2 separate regions of the Homo sapiens genome follow, and region 1 is linked to region 2. Evidence: promoter capture Hi-C in 16 types of primary human blood cells and fetal thymus (Javierre and others, 2016). All regions are on one chromosome and are shown on one strand. The core of a region is centred on a gene start or on the middle of the fragment in contact, and the rest is flanking DNA. Distances in the headings are between cores, read along the strand shown.

Evidence for each region. The method cuts DNA at HindIII sites, captures the fragments that hold promoters and counts their contacts. A CHiCAGO score of 5 or more calls a contact.
Region 1: a contact is called between a fragment that was not itself captured here and the fragment with the promoter of E2F2 in region 2, in 1 of 17 cell types (fetal thymus). The highest score is 5.1, in fetal thymus.

What each region holds. Positions count from the first base shown.
Region 1 is chr1:23,962,280-23,968,800 of GRCh38, reverse strand. PNRC2 (proline rich nuclear receptor coactivator 2) reads right to left here. Exons shown (of 3, transcript NM_017761.4): 3 at 5,339-6,521. SRSF10 (serine and arginine rich splicing factor 10) reads left to right here. Exons shown (of 6, transcript NM_054016.4): 6 at 1-4,454. Among named protein-coding and RNA genes, the nearest start is that of PNRC2, 5.7 kb to the right of the region's middle. The HindIII fragment of the contact is 773 bases long and covers 4,228-5,000 here.
Region 2 is chr1:23,527,065-23,533,514 of GRCh38, reverse strand. E2F2 (E2F transcription factor 2) reads left to right here and starts at 2,282. Exons shown (of 7, transcript NM_004091.4): 1 at 2,282-2,973. The coding sequence starts at 2,722. It overlaps LOC101928163 (a long non-coding RNA gene), which reads right to left. Exons shown (of 3, transcript NR_110799.1): 2 at 6,445-6,450; 3 at 5,096-6,110. RefSeq lists silencers at 2,051-2,190, 2,728-2,876, 5,032-5,228 and an enhancer at 4,884-5,013. The HindIII fragment of the contact is 7,412 bases long and covers 879-6,450 here.

The sequences.
Region 1 (6,521 bases), core at 3,365-5,864, 430 kb before region 2:
TAATTCCAAGTTTATATTTTCATTATTGGATGGATCAGTAATTCTGCTCTCCCTCTTATAAACAAGACGCATTAGGGCTTAACGTTTATGACATGATTTTAAATCATTTTAAATTGAATGTTGATGAGCAACTAATATTAAGTGATAACCTCTTTGGGGAAGTAGGTTAGGTATTTTGTGGTTTGAATTCTATCTACTTTATGACAATTATAGCTAATTTATTAAGTATTCATGATGTGCCAGACACTTGAAAAGGCTATGTGTTAACTCACTCTTCACAAAACCTTATGAGAAAGATACTTTTATTTTCCCCATATCACAGATAAGGAAACTGAGGCACAAAGAAAAGACTGTAAGGCAGAGCCAGGATTTAAGCCCAGGCCTGGTCCCTTAGTTTTGGGGGGGTTTTGTTTGTTTTACAGACTATAATTTGAGAGAAGTAGATTGAGGAGATAGCTCATTGAAATTGTTCATTTTCTGTATAGAACTAGAAGGCCTAATTTCATTTTTATTTTTACTTGTGTCAACTTATTTTTAGACTTGGACTATTGAGAATCTTATATGTTGTTCCTAAAGCGACACACCTAACAGCTTCAAAAGGACTATATTACAGTTGAACCCATGGTAGTTTGGATCCTACTGATACTTGATGAGGATCTTTACGTAGTGTTTTATGTTAGTTTTGGGTGATGTAGTTGAGTCCCCCACTTACTGAGTTTACCTACTGTGTATGACTGGGCTCAATGATAAATAGAATGGTTATATCAACACTCAAATGAGGGCTGACACACTTCACCTCTCCTTTTACTTAAGATCTCTCTGCATTTTTTTTTTTTTTTTGAAGCCAAGTAAGCAAGAAGAAAAATGAGAGATAATGCTTCAGTGAGAGAGGAAAGGTGCTACATAGAGTATGAGCTGTTAAGTTACATCCCAGGGGAAAGACCTGGGAACTATTGTATTATTCTCTTGAAAATTTGGCCCAGTAAGCTGCTACATCCAGTTCAACTAACAAAATCCTGTATACCACAGAGAAGAATAAAGGAAACCAAACTGACAAACATCCTTCTTTTATTTAAGACCAAACTGCAGCTGGAATACCCAGTACAGTTCTGCTTACTACACTTCAAGAAAGATCTGAAAGCGGAAAAAGAACCAAAGAAGGGCAGTTCAAGCGACCAAAGGGTGGGTGGAAGGTGCTGCAGTATGAATACTGTACGAATATTTTGACTCTGGTCTGAAAAGATAAAAGAATGTTATCGAAAACTACATGGAATAATTGAAGTCCCTTCAAGTTTGAAAGTAAGCATTTTAGGACAAATAAAAGGAAATTCAACTTTGTACTTGTGGAAACTAATCCCTAAATATGAATAGGTTTATATTGATTCATGGGTAACAGGTCCATAATAAATTATTGGAAACTAGGATGTCTGAATATCAAGGAAGACAGCCATAGTCTCTTACAGTGCCTCTGTTGGTCTGTCTCAAACTGAATTGGGTGGGAAAAGGTATGGTCCAATATAAAAGTTCCATTTTTGCCATTATTGGCAAATCTTGCCTTTGTTTATTTTGGTGCCAGTGTTTTCTGCTTAATCATTTGCTTTGTTGGCATCTGTGTTTATTTACTTGTACACCACATGCAGTTTACATCTGTCTTAACTACTCCTTCCCAGGTAAATTCCAATTATATTTGACATCCAGCTAAGAGGGCCCATCTCTTCTCACCTCTTTCCTAGTCAGTATATTCAGCAAATATTTATTGAGCCCTTACTGTGGGCAAATCATTGTACTGGATAATTGAGAAAAATAGATAATTCCCTTATTCAGTAAATGTCTACTGAGCACAATCTAGTGAATCATTACAGTATGGCCTCATTGTTTTGTTTGAGGTGTGTTATTCATAACAATATTTTACACCATTCGTATCAATGTAATTATAGAACACAATATACGATCAAGGATAAGTAATTGTGTGGTTATCTGCCATTTAAAAGTATCCAGTATTTGATCACATTATTATAAATAATGAAAAAATGATTTAATCTGTAATAAACTGGTTTATTGTGCAGTGACTGTAATATACTAGAGTTATAATAAATTGTTTACTCTGCCTCACCAAACACATGCTAGGATATAACCCCCAAAATAAGTATTTAACTTTGCATTAGGTATAAAGGAGACTGGGTGCTATAATTAGATTATTTTGAGGCAGACAGAGAGCTGTTATCCTAACTGATTTAGTATGTTCTGTAATTGAGAAAATGTTCACCAAATTATACTTTTTAGTGATTTACATGTACATTTTATAGGGGACATGTTCTGTGTATAGCGAATAAATAACTTTTATAGTATCACAAAATGTTTTGGATTCCTTAGTTTCTTATTAGGATATGATGTTTCTTTACCTATACATTGATTTCATCACATTTGATTTTTGTCATCTTTTTTGCCACATACTTAAAATTTTCCATATAAAATTAACTAAAAATCTGGAAGTGGAATTTAAGCTTTTAATTTGTAGCAATTTTGAAAATATAGCAGAGGTATATTTTCAAGGGAGGTGTGAAATGGAGGTATTATTGTTTGTATTTTATTTTAGAAATTTTGTTTGAACTTGCCCAAGATCACACAGCAAGTGTCAGATCCTAGGTTACAGCCCATAATTTTTCACTTGTTTCATCTTTTGTTACCATGTTTGTTGTTTAATCCAATGGGGAAGTGTTTTTATAGCTTTATTTTCATGGAGATAGTAACATTGATATAATGGGATCTAGAATTTACTTAGAGTCAAAGTGACTAGATTTAATTACAAAAAGTATTTTGTTGTATACCGTTATACACTCATTAACATAGGGGTTCTTATGGACAGAGGTTCTATGTATTTTTAAAAGAATATGTAGAGGCTATAGACTTTTTTGCCCTCTACCTCCCTTCTCCATTTCCTTTTGAAGTTAAGACATTTAAGGGGGAGAATTAAGGTGCATATTGAGTTGGGGTTTTGTTTAAAAAAAATTAGGTAAATACATATATAACTACAATAACAACAGTTGGTAGTTCTCTAAAATATTTAATTATGGTAAATCAGAAAAGGCCCTTTAATTTTTGCATCTGTTGAATGAATTGCTTTAGGATCTCTTCTGTGGTTGTTTCTCTCTATACTGAATGCTGTCAATATTATTGAGCACTTACTGTGCCGAACCATGTGCTTTTCAAATATTTCTATTTAATCCTAAAAACACTCCTGGGAAATGGGTATTATTCCCATTTTACAGATGAGAAAATTGTCCTTTGTAGAATACCCATCATGTGATAGCTTCTTGCATATTATGCTATTCATTTCTCACAACCTTACAAGGTAAATGGATAATGTTCCTGGATGAGAGATTAAACGTACTCGAAGATCTTATGGTTGTGTGGCTCAGAGACTCTAAGCATGGCTTTCCAAATCTCATTCTCTTGTAGAGATTTTCCATTGTATTGCATTTTGACCATGTTCCTGTTTACAAAACCTAAGATTATATTCTGAAGTATCTGTGACTTGAGTGATAGCTCAGGAATAATCTGAGGGCATTCTATTAGGAAGGAGGACTAGCAAAGCCTATAGTTAGCCTATCCTAGGCATGAACTATTCTCATTTTAGATAGGATGACTTGATAAATAGGATGAAGTGAGCAACCTGTTTGTCTTCGGTTATTGCTATCTACAAGACATTCTGCTAGTCACTGTGGAAAAGTTTCCTTCTCTTGGGTTTTTTCCTCTTCCCCTTCCTCTTAACAGTGTTGGTTATCTTTATTATGTTTCTGTGTATTTGTAACAGCTGTTTCACCCTTGTATTGCATAATGGGGATTTTTCTTGGAATAAAAAGTGAGGCATGTAAATTCATTGAGAACTAACCGTAGTTTGTAAAGAAGTAAAAGGCCTTTGTATCTAGTTTTTTGCAGATCACATTTCTTTGAATGCTGGAAAGTGAAATAAACTGGTCTAGGAGCCAAAAATAAATCTTGGGTTTTTTTAAGATTTTGCTCTTAGATTTGTAACCACCTGGGTACAACTTTTTCCTAATTTGTGTAAGAGGTTTTAGAGATGCACTCTGTCCCTCTTGCTTTACAAATTGCCTACAAGAATGCAACCAAAATACTAGAAACTGAAACTTACACAAAACCTTTCAGGTTTTTTCCTGTGTTGTAGTTCTAGGGAAGAGGATAGTTTATTAGTATTTATTTTAAGCTTAAGGATAGGTTTTGGACCTGGATTCCATCATAGTATAACTGCCATCGAAAAGAAGACAAATTGAAATTACAGCATTTACCTAAGGTTCACAGTATGGCTGACTTCAGCAGCCTTACATGGTAAGTTCTCTGTACCAGCTATTTTTGGTTCTCGCAATTGCATCGACTTGGGAAATTCCTATCACCATTCTCTATATAGGCTAACCAAAACTTTTATCAGTACCTTTCCTAAAGTATGAAGTTAGGTAATCTTCCACTCCCACTTCCATTTACTCATTTTGCTTGAGTCAAACCAAAAATCTAGTGTATTACTAGATTAGTCACTAAAAATCTAGTGTATTCAATATATACACTAGATTCAATATATAGCTTAAAAACTAACAGACACCTAGGCTGAGATTTGTCCAATACATGAAGTTCAATTCTGCAATCCTTGGCATTGTTCACAGAAATTACCCTGGAAACAAAATGAACACCCAAATGCTGGTTCTGCCTTAACTCCAAATTGTTAACTAGTTTGCATGAAAATAATACAGCTTTGCCATGGGACTAGTTGTAGCATTTTAAGGATTACTCAAACTAGTTTTAAGATGCCCTATCATTTGGAATCTGTATCAGAAAGGTGTGGTTGTGATGCTTTTCTTCTGAGGGGTCCCCTTATATACTTTTCATTTGTCAACATACTTAAAACACAAGGGTTCTTGTCAACTTGATAAATTTGCTTATAATTTTTTTTCTATGAACCTAGATCATGGAATTAACTTTCAAAAGCTTTGCGATGTTTTCCATGTGTGGCCTTTTTTTTGCTTTTTAATTAACACTACTGGGAGAGAGAAATCCTAAGTAGTTGCTTAACTGCATAGCTGTCAAATCCTAGTATCTTCTGTATCAGTCAGCAAACTAGTTGCCCCTTTTCAAGCCAACAGTCCTATCACATTTTAGTTGTGACCTTTTTTATATATACGTATATATATATGATCAGAAATGTAGTGGTTCATAGTTCTGGAGTCTGAGAAATCCAAGAGTTTGGAATATTGTGAGTGTATTATGAGCTTCAAGTCAGTGACAAGTAAAACACATTTTTAAAAAGAATATTAAGCAATCAAAACCATTTTTAAAATAAAACCAAGCCAATGGGGAAAAATTTTATTTAATTTTATGCTTCACATTCATATCATGTACATTAAGTACTACATAAACTTGTCTTTAGGCTATCAATATTTAACTTGGGCAGTACTTCATCTTGATTTATTTGGAGAAATACAGCTTAGGCATCTGCTTACCTGCTTAGGCATCAAGAGGTGCCAAATTAGAAAATAGGGCATTAACAATCAAAATTTTTAAGCTGACCCACATACTTGCTACTGGTTTCGCTTATGTTTAAGCATTTAAAGTTGGCAAAACATGTTATCAATGTATTATGCAAGAGTTTACATCTTTTGCATAAGTGGTCCATTGGGTTGCACCTACCCCTTGACCAAACAAAAACAAAACATCACTGGCACCATACTCGAAACTACCTGTATCCTAGGTTATAAGATTGTGAAAGCCAACAATCTATAAGGTTGGAGGGACTCTAGTTAATCTTTGGGCTTAGAGGAGGAAAAAAAGATAGTCCCATACTGCATTTCACATCTCTTAAAAATAGTTTTAGCAGCTTAAACCTTTTTAGTTATAAAACTTATTACACTAGGGTTTACTTTGAAATATAGTTTACAACCAAATCAAGTATAACATACATACACTGGCACTTTAGCACAAGGGCAAACTTTAAAAACAAGTTATTTTGGACCTTTAAAATTAGGCCATATTATAAAAAACAGTCCACGGTCTTACATTCAGCAAATTCATACTAAAATACTCCATTTTTGTAAGATAAAGGCCAAGAAAACTTTACATATGCTACAAGTTTATTACAGATATTTACATGGCTCTTTCTCCCCTAGGTACTTAAAATTTTCACATTATCCAACTCCCCAAAGCAAGCTTTGCAGGAATGATGAGGCCAGAGCACTATTAGAATAGCTTGTGCAGTGCTGTAATACAAAAATGTATTTTGAAAGCTATTGAGTGACCATTAAATACTGTTTCTATAAAAAATGGTTTTGGTGTATTTGTTGACAGACACTTAATCCACTACATTTAATAAACAGGGCCATTGGGGTGTACTATGTCTCATTCTAATGAGCTCCAAATGCCCTTTCCACCCACTGTACAATTCACTAAAATGCAATTATTACGAAAAATTCACATTTTCTTTCAGCAGTGCATCAGGTTAGCATATTACTGGTTTG
Region 2 (6,450 bases), core at 1,033-3,532:
CTGAAGTAATGTGAAATTGACTGAGTGATAGCATTATCCACATTTGATGGTTGAGGAAATTGTGGTTAAGAGAAGTGAAGCAGCGGCTGTCCAGTGTCACTTAACTAGGAAGTAGAGAGCGGGACTTACTTAATCTGGGCCTCCTGACTTTCTGACTTCAGATCTCATTAACTTCTCCTATTCTTTGCAGCCAGGCAGATGAGTGAATCATAATCAGTATTTATTACCTGCCTTCTGCACTCCAAGCCAGGCCCTAGATGCTAAGGGGCATTCTAGAGAGATCTGACCTAGATTCTTGAAGGAGCATAGAACCTAACTGATAAACAAGGTATGAAAACGAAGCCTTGTTTTGTTGAGGTAGAACACACTAAGGGTCCCAAGAGGGTAAGAGCCATTCTGGCTGAGAGGAAGCAGGCAGGGGAGGCTTCTTGGAGGAGGTGAGATTTAAGCTGGCCCTCAAAGGACCAAAAAGGACCAATGAGATACGTAGACTAGAGTAAAAGGGTCTTATGCACTGGAGATAAGGTCAGAGATGTGACCGGGAGCGGTGACTCACACCTGTAATCCCAGCACTTTGGGAGGCCAAGTAGGGCGGATTGCCTGAGGTCAGGAGTCCGAGACCAGCGTGGCCAACATGGTGAAACCCTGCCTCTACTGAAAATACAAAAATTAGCCAGGCATGGTGGCTGGCGCCTGTAATCCCAGCTACTCGGGAGGCTGAGGCAGGAGACTCACTTGAACCTGAGGCAGGAGAATTGCACCGCTGCACTCCAACCTGGTGACAGAGTGAGACTCTGTCTAAAAAAAAAAAGTCAGAGATATAACAACAGCTGCCAATTCTTGAGGCTCCTTATGATCCAGGTTCTGTGATGAAAGCTTTATATGCATTATCTCATGAGATTTCCTCATGATCATATGAGGTAAGTGCTATTAGGAGGAGAAAATCAAGGATCAAGGATCAGAGAATTTACAAAATTTGCCTTGGTCACACAATGAATAATAAAGTGTCTGGGCCTGGGTTTGAATTCGGGGCTGTTGGCTACAAAGCCTGGGCTCTTAATCATCATGGGTTATTGCCACCTTGGCCTCAACCATCTAATGAGGAATTAAGCTGTGGACTGTCTCTGGAGGGCTTTGAATGCCAAGGCTCAGACTTGCATAAAAATCACACAGCACCAGGCAAGAAATCAGACCTGAAATCTAGCAGCAGCTTCTAGCAACTTTTTACCACTCACTACCCAAGTTTGCTTCTCTGAGCCTCTCTAAACCGGAGTGATGAGGAATGTATTATCAGCAATGAAGGTTTTTGAATGAGGCAGAGAGGCTCTTGTGACAAAAGGATTGTTTAAAAGAAACCTAGAGATGTTCAAACATTTACTGAGTATTGGGTCCTAATAATACAACTGTGAACAAGACAAAGCTCTGCAGTGGGACTCTGACCCTGCTGTGCCCCCAGGCAGCTTGGGAGAGTAGAAGAACCCCTTAACTGGAAAAACAAGGGCTCCAGAGCTGGGACCTGTCCCAGATTCTGTTGCCAGCTCTCAAATCAGGGAATCTCTCTGTATGACCTTGGGCAAGTTACCCAGCCTTTCAGACTGTCAGTCTTTATCATGGGGATCATCATTCCTCTTCCCAGGATTGTTGGAATAAATTAACTAAAACAACGCTTGTAAGGATCTAGCATGGTGCCTGGCATCCTGTAGGCGCTGAATAGATGTTAGTTTTCCCTACAAAGAAGTAGACTAGTTTGCCTCCGTCCCTCACCCCTCTGCCATTAAAGGGAACAGGTTCCTGGCCTTCATTTTAGCAGGAAAGGGGATATGAATGCACATGTGCTAGCTAAGCAACAATGCAAACTAACAAAAGGGCCTGTGGCCTGGGGAATACACTGCTGGGTCTGGGCTCAGGCTGGGACCCCGCGCCAAAATGTTTCCCTTCAATCCCAGGGAATCCGGGCCCATTTCTCGGGGCGCTGTGCACTGCTCTGGCCGCCTCTGCACTGTGAATCCCGGAACCACCCTCTGTCTCCGTCTCGCCGGCTGCTAACTAGCGCGGCCGGCGGCTGGCGGCACCAACAGCAGGTGTGGCTGCCCCTTTAAGCAGCGAAGCTAGTGTTGCAATCGCCGCCTCGAGGACGCGTTCTTTCCGGGGGGGGGGGGGGGGGTGGAGCCTGTACTGTCGCAGCAGCCAACCGGAGCGCGGCATTTTCCGCGGGAGATCCGAATTTCGCGGCACGACGTTTGGCGCTAAAAAAAAAAAAAAAAGAAGAAAAAAAAGAGGCAGAGAAAGACTCAAGGACTAGAGAGCGAGCCGCAAGGAAGTCGGTGCAGTCGAGACCCCCCTCCCCATCCCAGCGCATCGCGTCTCCGCCGAGCTTGAGGGCACGCCGGGGACCCCTCCCCAGAGCCGGCCGGACCCCAGGTGCCGAGGCCTTGGGGAGCGCGGGGCGTCCCGGGTCGCGGTGCCCTCGGGACGAGACAGCCCCTGGCAGTGCCACCACCGCAGCCGCCGGGCGATCTCCAAGCGGCGATCTCTAAGCGCTGCTCTCTGCTCGGCCGCGGGCCAGGAGGGGAGGGTCCGGCCTTGCCCCGCAGGCGTCCATTGGCGGCTTCCCCCGGCCTCCGCGCCATGCCGCGGGCCGTGTGAAAGGCGGCAGCACCGGAACCCGCAGGTGTCCGCGGGCGCGCCAAGCCCTTTTGGGTAGGGGGCGCCTTACTCGCTATGCTGCAAGGGCCCCGGGCCTTGGCTTCGGCCGCTGGGCAGACCCCGAAGGTGGTGCCCGCGATGAGCCCCACAGAGCTGTGGCCATCCGGCCTCAGCAGCCCCCAGCTCTGCCCAGCTACTGCTACCTACTACACACCGCTGTACCCGCAGACGGCGCCTCCCGCAGCGGCGCCAGGCACCTGCCTCGACGCCACTCCCCACGGACCCGAGGGCCAAGTTGTGCGATGCCTGCCGGCAGGCCGGCTGCCGGTAATGCTGGGGGCCCCCACCGCTTCCCCCTATGCTTTTCCAGGTGTGGGAAAGGAGGGAGGGGTGCCTGAGATCCAGTTTGAGTGGAGCAGGTAGAGTTTTGGGAAGAGGGAAGATGAGCTTTCAGTTTCCAGGACCCAGTGCCCCCAATATCTGAGTAGAAGACCCCTTCATTTTCAGACTTTGGATGAAATAATCTCATCCATTCTAGTGGAGTGGAATGAGCACTGGATTGCGAGTCTGGAGGGAGACCCAACTCACTACTCCCAGTGCACTGTGTGACCTTGGGGAAGTCCATGCAGCCAGCGTTGCCGCCATTCATTCATTACTTCATTGTTTGGCCAGAAACCAGTACTGGGTGCCTGCTATTGTCCAGGCAAAGAGTATGGCCTGGGGACACTGTGGGACTTTGGTAAGACAGAGGGATAGGTCTAGTGGGTCTCTCACATCCAATCTGCCATGGACAGACTCCAAATTGTCCAGCCAGCTCCTGAGATAGCCCCAAGTATCTGCCCTAGGTCCTCCCCCAGGCCCAGTCTTCCCTCCCAGACAGCCATGTAGCAGATACAAATGTGGGCAGCCCCCTTGGGTTCTGTTCAGATTGGCTGCTCTCTCCTCAAGCTCCCAGGCTCGTTGCCAGAGAGGGCCCAAAGTGTAGTGGCACCAGGCTGCCTGCTGACCTGGGCTCAGGGTGTGTTTTGTGGGAGTGGAATTCCTGGAGCCCGTGTGAATCAAAACAACTTTAGGGTGGGGGGTGGAGTGGGAAAAGCCTGGGGGAGTGGAGGTGGTGGTGGTTGAGGAGCCTGGTTTCTGGTGTGACTCTGCCACTAATTCTCTGTGTGTCCTTGGACAAGTCTTGGACCCAGTCTGGGCTTCAGTGTTCTCTCCTTCACAATGCGTGTGTGCACAGGGTGGCTGTGGGGCTAGCTCTTCTCAGCCACATTCAGCTCCAGGTCCTGGGTTTTGGAAGCAGGCTCCAGGGAGAGGAAGGGGGTGTTGTAGGTTTGCTTAGTTGTGAGTTTGGTGAATAAGTTCGGGTACAGGGATAAGACCACCCCCCACTGCCCCAGAGGCATCTGGTCAGACCTGTGCTAGTCAGCAAGCACGGATGCCCAGCCAGCTCTGGATGCAGGCAGAGCCACCACTCCCTGCCAGTGGACTCAGGCTTTGCCCATGTTCAAAACGTTAACCTTCCTGGAGACCCTTCCTGCACATGATTTCTAACTAGGAGGGCAGTGGGCAGGAATGGTATTATCCCCATTTTACAGGTTAAGCAACCGAGGATAACTGGGATTGGGTATCTTGTGTTCAGTGTTTTATAGCCTAAAACATCTTTGTAGTTCGTGAAATAGATGGCATTAATAGCTCCATGTTACAGGGGGAAACTGAGGCTCAGAGAGGGGATGTGACCTAAGGTCAGAGATGGGGATGGGGTAGAGTGATGGGACTCACAAGGCAGTCAGCTCTTCTGTCTTTTATTTTTTATTTTTTGTAGAGACAGGGGTCTCCCTATGTTCCCCAGGCTGGTCTCAAACTCCTGGGCTCAAGCAATCCTCTTGCCTCAGCCTCCCAAAGTGCTGGGATTACAGGCATGAGCTAGCTACTCTAATGCACCTGGTCAGGCAGCAGGCTCTTCTCTATGTAGCCTTGACTTTTTTTAATACTGCCTAACTTAGGAGCTGAGCTCCCCCCAGGGAAGGGAGCTTTGCGGCAGGCCCACTCTCCTCTGGCCAGCTGCTTTCAGACTGGAAGTTTCAGTAACAGCTGTGGTTTTACACTGCTTTGAACCCTCCCAGAGGAGCCCAAGTACATCTGTCTGTACCTCCCTCCCAGAAGGGCTCAGTGATCTTAGCAAGAAGGTCTCTCTTTTACTGAGTGCCTCTCGTGTGCCAGACACTGCTTGGCACTCTTCACGTTCATTATCTTGGTCAGGATGTCCAGAATGAGGCACCTTGCAGATAAGGAAACTGAGCAAAGAAAGGAAGTCACTTGCCTGGGTCACAAGTGAAGAAGCAGGGGAGTCTCCTTGCAGCAGACCACCCTAAAGCCCTGCCAGGCCCAGAGCTCCCGCTCCTGTCAATCCCCAGATGCCCGGGGCCCAGCCCCGTGGGCAGGCCTGCCCTCTGCTTACTCATTTTACAAGGGCGTGACCTGGAACAGCTCCAAACCCAACCCTGGGTGTGGCCGCTTGCTTTGTGGCCGGGCTGCAAAGTGCAGGGTGAGCAGGATTTGTTGTGGAGCTTCTGTTTAAAGGGACCTCAGGCACTGTCCAAGGATGGCAACCAAGTTCAATGGCAGAATGAAGGCCACAACCCAGATCTCCTGGCTCCCTGTCCAGAGCTCTTTCCAAGTCCTCTGAGGAAGGCTCAGGGAATGCCCCTTTATCGCATGCCTCCTCTGGCCAGGCGCATGGCATCATTCTCTTTCACGCCTGCAGGAAGCTCTGCCCAGGCTGGCTTGCAATAGCGCCATCTCTGCTCACTGCAAACTCCACCTCCCAGGTTCAAATGATTCTCCTGTCTCAGCCTCCCAAGTAGCTGGGATTACTTTTTGTATTTTTAGTAGAGATGGGGTTTCACCATGTTGGCCAGGCTAGCTTCGAACTCCTGACCTCAGGTGATCCACCCGCCTTGGCCTCCCAAAGTGCTGGGATTACAAGCGTGAGCCACCACGCCCGGTCCTCCTTTTCTTTCAATTTGTCTACATTTTCCAGATTTCCTCTTGTGAGGCATGAAAGAAAATAAACATTTTAACACACAACTCTACAAGGCAGGTCAGGTGAGGAGGTGTAGGCTCAGAGAGGCAAGACAGTGAATCCCAGGCTGTTCAGCTACGAAGTGGCAGAGCTGGGATCTGAAAGCAAGGTTCGACCCCTTACATTTGCTCCTACCCCCACCATCTGACTTAGGGCTTAGGAGAGACCAGGCTCCACTCTGCGTGACCTTGGGCAAGTCAATTCCTCTTCCCCAAGTCCCAGTTTCCTCACCGTGGTGCCCGTAAGGGGGTTGTGCCTGGTGATCTCTGACCCTCTGCACTTCTGCAGCTGCCTGAGGAAGGAGCTGTACTCTTCTCCATAGGGGTTGGCAGGGTGGGCTTGCGTCCTGACCAGGCCTTGAAGATCCAGCCAAAGGGGCTGCCTAAGAGCGTCCAGGATAGGGCTAAGCTGGCCTCTGGCTGTGGCCATAGCCTTTGCTCTCCTCCCCTCATCGCAGTCTCTTTTCAGCTCACCCTTGAACTTTCCCCTTTTCCCACTGGTGCTCCCCATACATCAGTGCTAGCAGCTCCCTGGTGGGGGCACTCCCTATGGGCAAAGCGCTTTGCTGCACTATCTCACTGAATCCTCAGCATAGGTGGAGACAATGATGCCCATTTTATAGGTGACTTGACGTCAACTGATTTCCCAGCTAAGAAGGGGAAGGCCTAGATGCAAAGCCAGGCCAGTCTGACTCCAAGACCTGTGCTCAGCCTCACCTTGAT